2 separate regions of the Homo sapiens genome follow, and region 1 is linked to region 2. Evidence: promoter capture Hi-C in human tissues and cell types (Jung and others, 2019). All regions are on one chromosome and are shown on one strand. Each heading gives the region's core, a stretch centred on a gene start or on the middle of the fragment in contact. The rest is flanking DNA. Distances are from core to core; before and after follow the strand shown.

Region 1 (4,498 bases), core at 216-2,715, 270 kb before region 2:
GTAAGGCTGCTGTGCAGAACAAGGCCCTCTTCTAATCAGATTGCTGCTCTTAAGCTCTTCTTATATAAAAACCCTAGAGCTGATGCACATAAGTATTCTCCCACTTTAAAAATACTGCAAATCCATAAAACATTCTAGCCTTAATCAAGGCCTGGGAACACGCCTAAGCACATGCACAAATCACAAACAGTCAACTAGGAATCTAAACCACTACATTGTATCATCAATCTAAAATCCTGCCTGGGTTTATTTATTCATTTATTTTTGAGACAGGGTCTTGTTCTGTCACCCAGGCTGGAGCGCAGTGGCACAATCATAGCTCACCACAGCCTCAATCTCCCAGGTTCCAGCAATCCTCCCACCTCAGCCTCCCGAGTAGCTGGGACTACAGGCACACACCACTACACCCGGCTGATTTTTTTTATTTTTAGTAGAGACAAGGTCTTGCTATGTTGCCCAGGCTGGTCTCCAACTCCTGAGCTCAAACAATCCTCCTGCCTTGGCCTCCCAAAGTGCTGGGATTATAGATGTAAGCCACTGCACTTGGTCCTGCATGGCCTTAGATAAAATTTCTCACTTTTCTGAACTAGTTTTCACTTATGTAAAACTGGAACAATGTTTGTCTCCTCCACTTCCATAGAGAAACCACATTAGAAAGTATAGTGAAATGCTCAGAGTGCTTTATAAAAGCAATGGATTGTCATCCCATAAAGCTTCTTAATAGATCAAGAAAGAAGGCTGAGGTGACCTTGCATAAACATGCAAGAGGTGGCGGGTGGTTTTCCCTGCTCCTTTCCTTCAGGTGTTTAACTCCAATGTGCTATTGGGACTGTATATAACATGACAAAAGAATCACTAAAAAAGTGAAATGCTGGTGGTACACTTGGTGCTAACAAACTTAGTAGTAATAATCTTTAATCAGGAGTCACAGACTTCTACATCTGTGGTTGAGCTTGAAGAAGTCTACGAAGCCCCCACATGGTAAATAAAATAATGTAAATGAGTGAATGGGCACATTCACACGTGACCACATTTTCCTATGGTCAATCAATAATTCTCCAGTACAGAGAAAAGGACCCTCAGACAGAAGGGGAAATTTCAGCTCTTATTTAGCTACTTACTTGAATTGTTGCCTTGGATAAGTCACTTTACCTCTGTGTGCTTCAATTTCCTCATCTTTCCAGAGGGAATATTTGCCTCATCTACTTCAAAAGGGGTGTTTGGGAGAATAAGATGAGAAAATACAATGAAAGTGGTCCAAAACAATCAAAAGAGTTATCTCTTTTTAAATCACCATTCAGCCACTGATAAGAATCTTGTCTGCAGATGGTTCTCATCTATTTAGGAAGGAACAGTGAAAGAATAAGGAAAGCAAACAGGCCGGGTGTGGTGGCACACACCTGTGGTCCCAGCTACTCAGGAGGCTGAGGTGGGAGAATCACTTGCACCCCAGGGGTCAAGGCTGCAGTGAGCCATGTTCATGCCACTGCACTCCAGTATGGGTGACAGAGCAAGACCCTGTCTCAAAAACCAAACCAAACCAACAACAACAAAAAAAAAAAAAAAAAAAAGGGAAAGCAAACAAAAGCACAATTAAAATTCACCTTCACCCCATTCCCCAGTTCCTCGATTTGCTGAGCCAAAACCATGCTGAGGAGACGTAAAGATCACAAGTTCCATTTCCGCCAGCTCAGACTGTTCAGCGACCAGTGTTTCACGCTGATAAATGCCTCCCAAATCTCAAAACGCAAAGTGAGAGTTCACAAGGTTAGGCGCATTAATTAGCAGTACTCATTTGGATTCTGTATTCATCAAATACAACAAGCAGCTATTCAATATTTGCCTATTTGCACACTCTAAGATCTCTAATTCAAAGATCCAACCAGAGTACAAATTAAAGCCCAAGAAAATAAACTAAAATAAACCTGTCACCATCAGAATGTGCCTCAAAGTAAATCAGCAGCTTTAAACCATGGCAAAGGGTCTGTAACAGGCCTGCAGCAGAGACAGCATGAGTAATGAATGTGCAGGTTACAGAAGTGGGCCCCTACTGCAAAAGAAAGAAAAAGTAGGTACAATCAAAGAGACTACTTTTTTAGGCTTTAATAAATTCCTATTAACTCCTTTTGCTTAGCTCCTTATTGATCTATAATCCCCACAAGAAGAATACAGTACCCTTTCAGTCTTCTAAACTCAGTAAGTCTATTTCCATACTTTACATCAATTAGCTTTACCTTCCTAAATCCACAATAAGCAACATTTTATAAATAATAAAGTAACTGCATTAGTTTGCAAGACTAGATTAAGAGACTAACCACGACCCCTTTATTACATGTCCTAAGTGAAAAGTACAGGATGAAACAGAAACTGTCACTGCTTTTAAAGCAGCCCATAGGACTGTAGTTCTCAACCGCACTACACAGCAGAATCACCTTTGGGATTTTTAAACATTTGAATGGGTAAGCCCAATCTTACACTTACCCAATCAGAAACTCCGTGGGGTGGATCTCCAGGTATGAGAATGTTTTTCTGATATATGACTAAGATATAAAAGTACTATCAAAGGCATAAGTTTCCCAGCTTAGAGAAGCTCTAGGACAGACACAAACCAGAATGAAAAACAAATAAATCTTTACATTCTCTTTAGATTTAGGGTAAATGGCCCTATCTTTTACCAAAAGCTTCCATCTTCAATATCAACAGTGATGAACTCAGTAGGGGATGAACACAGAGCTAACAACACTTCTTCTCCCGATGCCTTATCTGGGGCCACTCTGATATCAACTCAGCACCAAAAGTGCAAGAATTGGACAAATACTCTCAAATCTGAAAGGCCTGCAAATAGGTGACTATTGATTATCAACCATCCTAGTTTTTGTTTTTTTGTAGTTGTTGTTTTTGTTTGTTTTATGTTTTGTTTTTGAGACAAAGTCTCGCTCTATCACTCAGGCTGGAATGCAATGGTGTAGTCTCAGCTCACTGCAACCTCTACCTCCCCAGTTCAAGCAATTCTCCTGCCTCAGCCTCCCGAGTAGCCAGGACTACAACTGCATACCATCACACCCAGCTAATTTTTGTATTTTTAGTAGAGCCGGGGTTTCACTATGTTGGCCAGGCTGGTCTCAAACTCCTGACCTCATGATCCACCCACCTTGGCCTCCCAAAGTACTGGGATTACAGGCATGAGCCACCGCACCCAGCCGACCATCCTAGTTTTTAAGATCCACTTCAGGAGCTCTGATGAGATTCAATGAACTTCTGGAAAGGACACTATGAACTCTTTCGTTTAGCACTGTAACTCATATCTCCTGGACAAGTATAACAATGGTAGCTTTTTTTGACAACCCTGTAAGGAATAATGGCATTCCAAGATATTTCTAGGAGCTACCCTTTCAAATCTCCTGAAGAACGTCAATATCCCCAAACATCAAAGATACAAATTTCTTTCAGAGGCGAGGTGATTTAAGCCACACCATTTCTCTAAGAGGAAGCCTTACCTGTTCTTCTATCCTAACTCTGTTTCAACGTCATGGGCTCAAGTATTCAAACAACAAAAAGATAGGGAAGGCATTTTACACACTTGCCTAAACCATACTGAGGGTGTCTCGTAGGAAGCAATTCTGCTCTGACCCATAATAGGGCCTGGGCTTTTCCAGTCATCCTCCCATCTAACAAAGAAAGGTGGCAGAAACTTTGCTTTCTCAGGCAAGCTTTCCCTGATTAAAACCATAAGGCTGAATTCCCCCAGGGAGGAGAATGGAATTTTCTTGCTACAGATCATTACAAGGACTCAAAAACTCTGTGCAGGCAGGGGCTAACTGGCAGGTAATAAAGAGACAAGTCCAGCATTCAGAATTATAAGGCATCAAGAAAACCAGGTCAAAAAATTATTATGTAGCCTGGAGAAGAAAATACAAAACCAATCATGACTGTGCTTGAGTGATTATTTTCTCTTCTAATATCCACAATTTTAATAACATAATACTTATAGAATTTAAAAATATGCTTAATTTACATCTGTAAAAGTAAATTCACTGCTGAAACAAGCCACATTTCCTTTCAAAGTAAGTAATTTCAGGAAATGCTCTCTATCATAGCAACCCTTTGATGAAACACACCACACACATACATCATCTGAGTTACAAACAGCAGATACCAACCTGGCTGTCCCGCGCTGGGAATCCATGATAACCTGGAGTCAGAGGCTCGTTCTATGAGAAAGACAAGAAAAATATCAAACCATGAGATGAAAGAAAATGTTAGGCATAATCAAAATCATCCAAACTGATCAAATATAAATTCCTGCCCTGGTTCCTAAAATGTTCCATTAACTGTATTCCACCCTACCTAAGTGTATATATCTCCTCGTTAAGCCTCTACACTGGCAAAAACAAAAAACAGTATTTGCTTAGGAGCACTATTCATAAAAACTATTTCTTCCTTATGCAGCTAAATCTGTTTCCTTTCCAGTATATCTTAGGCAGGGTGCTACTGCGAC
Region 2 (4,268 bases), core at 1,270-3,769:
GAGGCGAGCCTACCAGCAGCCAGGTCTCTGAAAGGCTTACCTTGGAACTGTCCAGCCACTGTCCAGCCTGGATGGTTTTGCTGCACCCTTGAGGAAGAGAAAACAAATTGTGGGATTGAATGTGAGCCACCTATGGGCAAAGGGAGGCTTGAACAGCTGGGCCTCTGCAGATCCCTCTGAGGTGGCAGCAAATGCCAAGACCAACCTAACCCAGATTCTTTCTCTATCACCAAGTCCCCATCATCTGCTATTTACAGACACTCAACTCATTCCAGCTCCCTCTTCCCTCACTCTCACACCAAGGAAAAGTCCGCTTGTCCTGTTGGAGAATGAGGAGAAGATAATCAGAGGAGGGGCAGCCATCTGATCATTACAGAAACTACACAGTCTATACGCAGAAATAGAGATGGGAAGGAACGTTCTAACAATGACCGGAAACATGTGTGACAACTAATTGATGATAGCCAGTCTGTATTGAGTGTCTGTGATGTGCAGGGCTTCTTTTTTTATTTTTATTTTTATTTATTTATATTTTTTGAGACGGAGTCTCGCTCTGTCGTCCAGGTGGAGTGCAGTGGCGCGATCTCGGCTCACTGCAAGCGCCGCCTCCCAGGTTCACGCCATTCTCTTGCCTCAGCCTCTCGAGTAGCTGGGACTACAGGTGCCCGTCGCCACATTCGGCTAATTTTTTGTATTTTCAGTAGAGAAGGGGTTTCACCGTGTTAGCCAGGATGGTCTCGATCTCCTGACCTCATGATCAGCCCGTCTCGGCCTCCCAAAGTGCTGGGATTACAGGCGTGAGCGGTCGCGCCGGGCCTGTGATGTGCAGGGCTTCTGACATGTGTCTCATTCAATGATCACACACAGCCCGGGAGATGGGTACCACTTTCCCATTTGAACACAGAGGAATCCACAAAAGTTAGGGAACTTGCCAGTGTTTTCTATTGCTAGAGCCAGGACTTCTGCTTCAACCTCATGTCTTCAATGACTGTGCTCTACTCCCTTAAATATACAATATTGAGTCATGTATACACGCTCATGGTAAATGACTCCTCATTGCAAATCCATGTCTCACACTCCGTGCTCAACTTTTCGTCTTGGTGAATTCACTGGTGCTGCAGTGGACAGCCTGTGTCCCCCTTGCTTCTCTAAGATCCTTTGTCCCACAAAGACCTGGATCCTGCCAGATGCCGGCCTAGCCCCTGCTGTGGCTGCCGAGCCCTCCTGGCGCTGCCCTGTTCCCTCTGCTGTCCTCCCCTAGCTGATGGACCTTAGGGTGTTTCTAATTCTTCATGTAAATTATGCTACAAAGAACACCCTCCTTCACGTAAAACTGCCCACATTTGATTTTATTTCCTTAAGATATTTGTAGGAGTAGAATGACTAGGTCAGAGGGTATCAACATCTCAAAATGTTTTATACCTAGAGCCACACTACATGCAAATTGTACCAATTCACACTCAAACTAGCAGTATATGAAGATGCCCATTCTTTCAGTCTTACTGGCTCTCAGTAGTCTCTTTATCAGGACAAAAAATATATACACAACATGTAAATTTGAGAACTAAATATCTTGTTATCAATACCAATTAGTACAAACTTTAAGGCACGAAGGTAGCAGTTGAGATGTGAAGCACTGAACAAAGGAGAAGGAGGATTAATATTGTCATTTTTTAAAGATGGAAGTTAAGAAATACTGGGTACAACTGAGGGTATAAGAAAGTTGTAAGTAAATTGTTTACAGCTACAAAGTTGCTAATGGAAGACATAAAACTGGTGATAGAATGTTAGGAAAAGGTGGAGAGGAGAGATAGAGGGAGGGTACAAATAAGATGAAAATGACTAATAATGATACTATAAATAATAACAATACCATTTCAGGCCCATCCCAGTTAGGGGCGGCTCCAAGCATTACCATTGTTCTTTTCTCACCGTGTGTCTCTGCGCACTCCCTGGCACACCCACTTCCAGCAGCTGGTCTTTGTTTGCAGACTTTATTTTAACAGCTCAGTGGTTCCCGGGCCCCCTGATGGGGTTCCATCCTCCAGCTCTCATACTAAAGCCCCCTCCTCAAAAGCCACTCGCCTCCCTCTTTCCCTTTCCTGCCTTTGTCTCAGGGTTCAGACACACAGATGTCTGTCTTCTGGGGCCCCCATGCAACAAGGGTAAAAGGGGGACCCAGTCCTGGGCAGCATTCACCAGGGGAGTATGCAGAGGGGCGTCTGGGCGCTTCTTGCTGTAAGGGACAGGGGTGACAGGAGAGGGGCATCCCTTCGCCTTCTTCCTGCTTTGTTCACTGTGTGACCCCCTAGGCCAAGGCAACCATCTCAACACCATGAGCCAGTAGAACTGGGAGGACCAGGAGAGAGCAGAGGAGCAGGAGGGCAGAGAGCTGGGGCCTCGGACTCACCCGACGCTTGTGATGAGCTGCACCCAGGATCCCATCCTCCTTGGTCATTGTTGGCCTGGCTCAGACGCTGATCTGGGGCCTCTGCTGAATGTTGAGGCTGGATACTGACTGTTAGCCTCAACTAGGACACAGTGCGTCCCCTCTAGGCGAGTCTACCAGTTGGTCAATTCCGGGAAGTGATTTTGGTTCCTAGAAAAACCCACATGGCTCCTGGCCCAGCCCAAGCCCTGCCCAATTGTGCAGCCCAGACAGGGAGCCCTCCCTCCCACCTCAGGGCTCTGAGCCAAGCTCACCAGATGCAGACGACAAAGATTTTCAGCAAAGCAGCTCCCTCCATGTCGCTGCGGGGCCTCCTCCTTGGGCAGGAAAAGAGGGGTTGAGACAGTGTGCTCCTCCTGAGAAATCACCATTTTCATTTCATTTTTAATAAACCGTTTTGCTGTGTCACCCAGGCTGCAGGGCTTTGACGCCATCCTAGCTCATTGCTGCCTAGATCTGCTGGGCTCAAGTGATCTTCCTCCTTCAACCTTCTGAGTAGCTGGGACTACAGGTGCACGCTACCATGCTGGGCTAATTTGTTAATTTTTGATTTCATAGAGACAGCATCTCCTGTGTTTCTCAGGCTGTCTTGAACTCCTGGCCTCAAGTGATCTTCCCGCCTCTGCCTCCCACAGCACTGGGATTACAGGCTTCAGCTATAGTGCTTTCTATCTTGATGGGCATCTCTTTTTGGTGAAGAAAAATCAGGCCGGGAGCGGTGGCTCACGCCTGTAATCCCAGCACTTTGGGAGGCCGAGGCAGGCAGATCACAAGGTCAGGAGATGGAGACCATCCTGGCTAACATGGTGAAACCCCATCTCTACTAAAAATACAAAAATTAGCCGAGTGTAGTGGCGGGCGCCTGTAGTCCCAGCTACTCGGGAGGCTGAGGCAGGAGAATGGTGTGAACCCGGGAGGCGGAGCTTGCAGTGAGCAGAGATTGCGCCACTGCACTCCAGCCTGGGCAACAGAGCGAGACTCCATCTCAGAAAAAAGAAAAAAAAAAAAAGAAAAAGAAAAATAAGACCACGACTCAGATTTCACAGAAATTACCCCCCTGATTTCATGGACTTTTGGCAGCTCTATCAGGTTTCTGAGAGGGGAAAATCTTAGGCTGGGAGGGGAGGTGACTTGCCCAGAGTCGCACAGCTCTTGGAGAGCAGACGGGAAGCCAACATCTGCCCTTGTGACTCTGCTATTGAAGAAAAACGGGTGATTTTAGTAATCCAACAGTGTCCAGGTTTGATTCTGCTTCTACAAACACAGAGATCTAAGCTCTCACTCCTGTAGTTACACTCACAATTCCACAGGTGGCTTTTGAATCTCATGATTACAAAGCTGGCGTCATGCCACAGGCACCATTCTGCAATGCGACCTTCTCACTCCCCTGTCTCAGCCATGTTTCCTATTGCGGGATCTGGCCAGCAGCCCCCAGTGCAACGGGGCTCTCTCTTTGCTCCTAGGCGGATCGGCAGGTTGAGAAATAATAGACACACACAAGATAGTGAAAGCTGGGTCCAGGGGGGTCACCGCCTTCTGGTCAACAATGCACTGGATATACCAGCATTTATTATTCAGTTTAGTGAGGGCGGGGGTAGGTTAGTGAGGGATTTAGGGTCATTTGATTACGAGGTGGGATGGTCACATGGGGATGAAGTAATTCTTTAACATAACATTCGTATGTAGAAGTACAGTGCATTTGTATGTAGAAGTACAGTATACAGAGATAAGAATTTACAATATAGTGTGTGCGTCAGTAATTTCTAACAGAGCCTTAAAACAGAAACACAATCTTTCCATAACCTATGATTAGCAAGAT

What was found. The method cuts DNA at HindIII sites, captures the fragments that hold promoters and counts their contacts. A contact is called where the count stands out against the background at its distance.
Region 1: a contact is called between a fragment that was not itself captured here and the fragment with the promoter of APOL4 in region 2, in 2 of the 25 tissues and cell types used here (bladder and heart left ventricle).

The regions. Positions count from the first base shown.
Region 1 is chr22:35,934,687-35,939,184 of GRCh38, forward strand. RBFOX2 (RNA binding fox-1 homolog 2) reads right to left here. Exons shown (of 14, transcript NM_001349999.2): 2 at 4,161-4,211. Among named protein-coding and RNA genes, the nearest start is that of RBFOX2, 92 kb to the right of the region's middle. The HindIII fragment of the contact is 3,459 bases long and covers 1-3,195 here.
Region 2 is chr22:36,199,290-36,203,557 of GRCh38, forward strand. APOL4 (apolipoprotein L4) reads right to left here and starts at 2,520. Exons shown (of 4, transcript NM_001386885.1): 1 at 2,411-2,520; 2 at 41-87. The coding sequence starts at 2,445. RefSeq lists an enhancer at 2,496-2,995. The HindIII fragment of the contact is 28,208 bases long and covers 1-4,268 here.